2 separate regions of the Homo sapiens genome follow, and region 1 is linked to region 2. The links are contacts of gene promoters, found by promoter capture Hi-C in human tissues and cell types (Jung and others, 2019). All regions are on one chromosome and are shown on one strand. Each heading gives the region's core, a stretch centred on a gene start or on the middle of the fragment in contact. The rest is flanking DNA. Distances are from core to core; before and after follow the strand shown. Region 1 has its middle 30 kb from the start of DHCR7. Region 2 holds the start of NADSYN1 (NAD synthetase 1).

Region 1 (2,700 bases), core at 97-2,596, 35 kb before region 2:
TTGAAAGCTATAAAGCCTCAGTAAGGTTGTGCTACACTGACCTGCATCTGTACTCTAAACAAATGGTCCTTCCCAGACCTCCATGGTCTGCTTTCAACTCGCTCAAAGTCATCCACTCACCAATACAAAGATGGAAAACACAGAGAAGCTAAGGGGATTGTTGAAAATCACACTGTAATGGTCTGAACCAGAGGCTGGCAAACAAAAGCCCAGAGGCTAATTCTGGCCCACTGATTGTCTTTGTAAATTAAGTTTTATTGGAACTCAGTCACACTCATTTGCACCCTGTCTCTAGCTGCTCTTGGGCTACTACGGCAGAGTTGAGTAGTTGAGAACATGTGGCCCACTGTACTAGTCTGTTCTCGCACTGCTGTAAAGAAATGCCTAAGACTGGGTAATTTATAAAGAAAAGAGGTTTCGGGCCGGGCGCAGTGGCTCACGCCTGTAATCCCAGCACTTTGGGAGGCTGAGGCGGGCGGATCACGAAGTCAGGAGATTAAGACCATCCTGGCTAACACAGTGAAACTCTGTCTCTACTAAAAATACAAAAAATTAGCCAGGTGTGATGGCACACGCCTGTAGTCCCAGCTACTTGGGAGGCTGAGGCAAAAGAATCGCTTGAACCCTGGAAGCGGAGGTTGCAGTGAGCTGAGATTGCACCGTTGCACTCCAGCCTAGGCTCCTGAGACTCTATCTCAAAAAAAAAAAAAAAAAAAAAGTAAGAAAAGAAAAAAGGTTTAATTGGCTCGCAGTTCTGTGGGCTATACAGGAAGTGTGGTGCTGGCTTCCAGGTAGGCCACAGGAAAGTTACAATCATGGTGGAAGGTGAAGGGGAGGCAGGGTCATCCTAATGGCCAGAGGAGGAGGGAGAGAGAGGAAGGAGATGCCACACACTTTTAAACAACCAGATCTCATGAGAACTCTATCAGGAATAGCACCAAAGGGGGGTATTCCACCCCCAGGATCCAATCACCTCCCAGCAGGCCCCACCTCCAGCATTGGGGATTACAATTCCACATGAGATTTGGGTGGGGACACAGATCCAAACCATATCACCCACAAAACCTAAAATATTTCTTATGTGACCCCCTTGTAGAAAAAGTCTGACAACCCCTCATCTAGACTGTATCCCTTAACACTGTGACAACAGTTCTCAAAGTGCGGACCCCAGACCATCAAAATTAGCTTCATTTGTTAGAAATGCAGTCCGCAGTCCTCATCCCAGATCCCCTGAATGAGAAACGCTGGGTGGGGGCCCAGCAATCTTAGTCTAAGAAGACCCCCAGGTAAGTCTGATGCCCTCCAGTCGAAGATAAGACAAGAAAACCACCACCTTCAGTTACAGAAATCTGTTGTGATTGTTGACTCTCCAGTCTGAAAAGCGTGTTCTCGTGTCCTCACTCTAGCCTTTCAGGGAGGAAGAATTGCTCTCAAGTCCCATTTTACTAGTTTAATCTGCCCTTAGCAAGATTGGAGGCAGCTGAGAGCCACTCAGTAAAACGCTGGCAGCCCCCAGGAGCTGGCAGTGGGAGACACGGGATGACTGTTCCTTCCAAAATAAATGGAGGGTTTACAGAAGGCATACAGGATATGTGGCGTGCTGCTGTGACACACAATCAGTCCTAGCCAAACCAAGCCCTTACATTTGAGTACCAAAGTCTGGGTGAAATAACCACCTCATCCTGGTTTGGTTTTTTCCAGTTTCAACATTGAAGAAGCCATGTCCCCAAAAACTTCTCAGTCCTGGTCAAACTGGGACAAGTCCTAGGCCTGGGATGTAAAAGGCCAGGCTTTCCTGCAAAGAGCAGGTAACATGGTGGCCGATCCCGCCCACAAGCATCCACAGATGCTTCCTACAGGTGCTGGAATGAAGAGCTGGAAGCAGCCCAGTGCTCAGGGAGTCAAGGCATGGCTGGGTAAATACAAAGGCAGCTACCACCCAGTGTGGGGCACCGCCAGTAGCATTCCCAGGAGCCCCGGGAGCTGCAGGGGTCACGGGGGCATCTGAGCCAGCAGTGCAGTGGCACATGGGCATCAGCCTGGATCCCGTACCCTGGGACAGTCCTCTGCCTTGAGTCACTGTGTTCCAGACCCGACGTCTCTCACTACAGCTGTCACTTGTCATGCCTCCCACTCTACTTTCCACACCAGCTGCAGTTCTCTGGGTGGGGCTGAGCATCTGCGGTTCATTCACCCTTACAGCTTCTAGAAAGCCACACTGCAAACCCTATCGGCCAGATGAGAGCTTCCCCAGATCTAAGCTTCTCTGTCTCCCCAGGGCTGCACCCTGAGATACACATGCAGAAAGGATTATTTCTATTTTTATTTTATACTATGTTATTATGATATAAAACAAGATATATGTAATGTATATAAATGTTAGGGATGACTTTTTTTTTTTTTTGAGACAGAGTCTGGCTGCGTTGCCCAGGCTGGAGTGCAGTGGAACCATCAAAGCTCGCCGTAGCCTTGACCTTCCAGGCTCAAGCAATCCTCCCACCTTAGTATCCTGAGTAGCTGGAACTACAAGCATGCACCACCACACCTGGCTAATATTTTGTATTTTTAGTAGAAACAGGATTTCGCCATGTTGCGCCAGCTGGTCTCAAACCTCAGCCTTAGCTTCCCACAGTGCTGGGATTACAGGCCTGAACCATCACACCTGGCCTTATTTTTTTCTAACAGACAGAGCCTTGCTAT
Region 2 (2,700 bases), core at 191-2,690:
CCATGCCGACCAGCTGACCCGTTAATAGAGAGAGATGATGCACCTGCATGCCTTTGTGTCCTGAAAAGACGTTTTGCCATAAAGGCCCTAATTGTAAGATGTGTAAATGTTAAGTCTCCACCCCAAAGTGAACATGGGTCATATATTACATGCTTTGCTCAATAAGAGGGCATGTGTCAGGACCACCTTCATGAATATTCATAGCTCCTCCTGTTACCTGTTGAATATGTATGTTTAGCCAATCCCTTCAGCATAGCGCTCCTGCCCCAACCCCTCCTCCTTGGACGTGCCTGTCTCTGGCCTTGGCTGGAGACAGATTCCCAGCCTCAGACAGATGGCCGCCACCTTGCAGGCTACGACCGTTTACAAGAAATAAAGCCTTCTCTTTTTCCAAATTTGTGAATTGTGTGTTTTTAAACTAACATGAATGACAGAAGGAAGGATGGCCTCTTCAAGCAACGATGATGAGGCAGTTATTTATATGGGGGAAAAATGGATTCTACCGTGGGTGGACTAAAGAGGAAATGTGAAAAAATAAAAAGTGAGAAACCGCTGGTAGTGAATCGGTGCAAGCGCCCTGGAGAAGAGACTTGGCAATATTTAGTAAAGTCAAACAGCACGAACCCTACTACTCTGCAAAGCTGCTGCAGGAACTGGCGGAACGAGGTCACGAAGGAAACCTTGCCGGAAAGGAAATTGCAGCAGTGCCTGTGTGCGTGCGTCTGTTGGCAAAACGCTGCTAATAACGTCAATGCCCATCCGCTATTGAATAAACCTGCTTTACTGCCACTATGGAATACCAAACTGCAGAAAAATAATTAAAAGAACGTATCTCATATTACAGGGGAAAAAATCAAGTTGCAGAAGCACATTCAAGTGCAGTTCCTGTAGTTTCAGAAAAGGCAAACAGTGCGCTACCTGAGCTACTTACACACGTGGTACAGGAGTGAAAGGGGCAGGAGAGGGTTCCCAAGAATTCAGCGCCATCCGCCCAGGGTGGCGGGATTCCCAGCACGGAGAATCGATTGCTATCGTCTGCTGTCCCGCGGGCACGATGGAGCGCTCCTACCGTACTCTCCACTTTTGGTGTATTTGGAACGTTTCATGCCGTATTAAAATAAAACATGGCTAAGCTGGATGTGGGGTGGCGGTGTGGGATAAAATAGAGGGGTGCTGCAGCTGGGCGGTGAGCCCCCTGCACCTGTGCACCTGAACGGGTTTGCCCGCAAGGGCCGGGCCGGGGCCGGGGCCTGGGACGTGGGTGGAGCCGGGGCGGGGGCGGGGCCCTTCGCGGTGCCGTGAACGCTGAGGCCACCTCGCTGCGCAGGCGCGGTCGTGAGCTCCTCAGACGGGGCGGGGCGATCCGTAGGCAGGGCCTGACGCCGCAGTCCTCCTTGGCCGGAGCCTCAACGGATGGGCGGGGAGGGGGCGGGGCCGGGCAACCCGGAAGGTCCGGCGTCCCAGCCGCCTACCTCGCTGGGACCCTGGTCTTGCTGTCCCCCGCTGGCCTCCTGCCCAAGCGACTGCGGCCAGGATGGGCCGGAAGGTGACCGTGGCCACCTGCGCACTCAACCAGTGGGCCCTGGACTTCGAGGGCAATTTGCAAAGAATTTTAAAGAGTGAGTCTGGGGCGGCGGGGGCACCGGTTTGGGGTGGCGCACGGGCACCGTGGCTGGGCCCAGGCTTGCCCGTGGCGTGCTCACAGCCTTGCCCTGGGAAACTCTCGGCCCTGGGCATGGGATCAGGTGAGATAATGGGCAATGACCCCGCCAGTGGTACGTGCTCAGGTCCTCGTCGGGAAGTGAGTGTTTATAGTTCCCGGGGACGAGCGATATACAAGGCACGGTTAAGAAAAGTCTGGCGGCTTAGGCGGGAGGCCTGGGGATGGACCCGTGTTCTGATATCTCTGGGGTCCCGTGGTTGGGACTGAGCTGCCCATTCTCGGAGATATCTAAGTTGAACAGAATGGCTGCGCACTGGCGGGGATGGTGTGCAGAGGCCAGAGATTGATGGTCTCTGGTCCCCGTGGGCCTTCCTGGTGGGAGAAGGCGTCCCAGAAAGGGAAGTAGAAAAAGACGCCTGTCATCCCAGCATTTTGGGGGGGCCGGAGGGGGTGGAAGTCACCTGAGGTCAGGAGTTCAAGACCAGCCTGGCCATCATGGTGAAACACCGTCTCTACTAAAAATACAAAAATCAGCCGGGCGTGGTGGCCTCGAAGATAGGGTGTGGTTGTTGAAAGGTCACCATCTAATTTTCGTTCATATGGACGCACCGTGGAGGATGAAAAGTTAAACTATTACACCTGCACCTAAATGGGCAAGCCTGCAGGTGTAGTCAGGTTGCAGCTTGTCTTGCACTGGTCTGCTGACTGCAAGAGCCTTTGCCAGGAACAATAGAAACAGAATGTTTCAAGAGATGGCATCTAATCAGTATGTGCCCTGGATTATTATTATGATTATTATTATTTGACATGGACTGTCACTCTGTTGCCCTGGCTGGAGTGCAGTGGTGTCATCTTGGCTCACTGCAGTCTCTGCCTCCTGGGCTCAAGCGATTCTCCTGCCTCAGCCTCCTGAGTAGCTGGGATTACAGGCGTCTGCCACCATGCATGGCCAATTTCTGTATTTTTAGTAGAGACAAGGTTTCACCATGGTGGCCATGCTGGCCTCGAACTCCTGACCTCAAGTGATCCACCTGCCT

What was found. The method cuts DNA at HindIII sites, captures the fragments that hold promoters and counts their contacts. A contact is called where the count stands out against the background at its distance.
Region 1: a contact is called between a fragment that was not itself captured here and the fragment with the promoter of NADSYN1 in region 2, in 1 of the 25 tissues and cell types used here (thymus).

The regions. Positions count from the first base shown.
Region 1 is chr11:71,416,777-71,419,476 of GRCh38, forward strand. It overlaps the pseudogene ACTE1P. Among named protein-coding and RNA genes, the nearest start is that of DHCR7, 30 kb to the right of the region's middle. The HindIII fragment of the contact is 3,115 bases long and covers 1-2,700 here.
Region 2 is chr11:71,451,763-71,454,462 of GRCh38, forward strand. NADSYN1 (NAD synthetase 1) reads left to right here and starts at 1,441. Exons shown (of 21, transcript NM_018161.5): 1 at 1,441-1,619. The coding sequence starts at 1,535. It overlaps DHCR7-DT (DHCR7 divergent transcript), which reads left to right. Exons shown (of 2, transcript NR_186309.1): 2 at 1-395. RefSeq lists enhancers at 110-159, 280-359, 1,597-2,098, 2,099-2,598 and a silencer at 1,170-1,539. The HindIII fragment of the contact is 4,997 bases long and covers 1-2,700 here.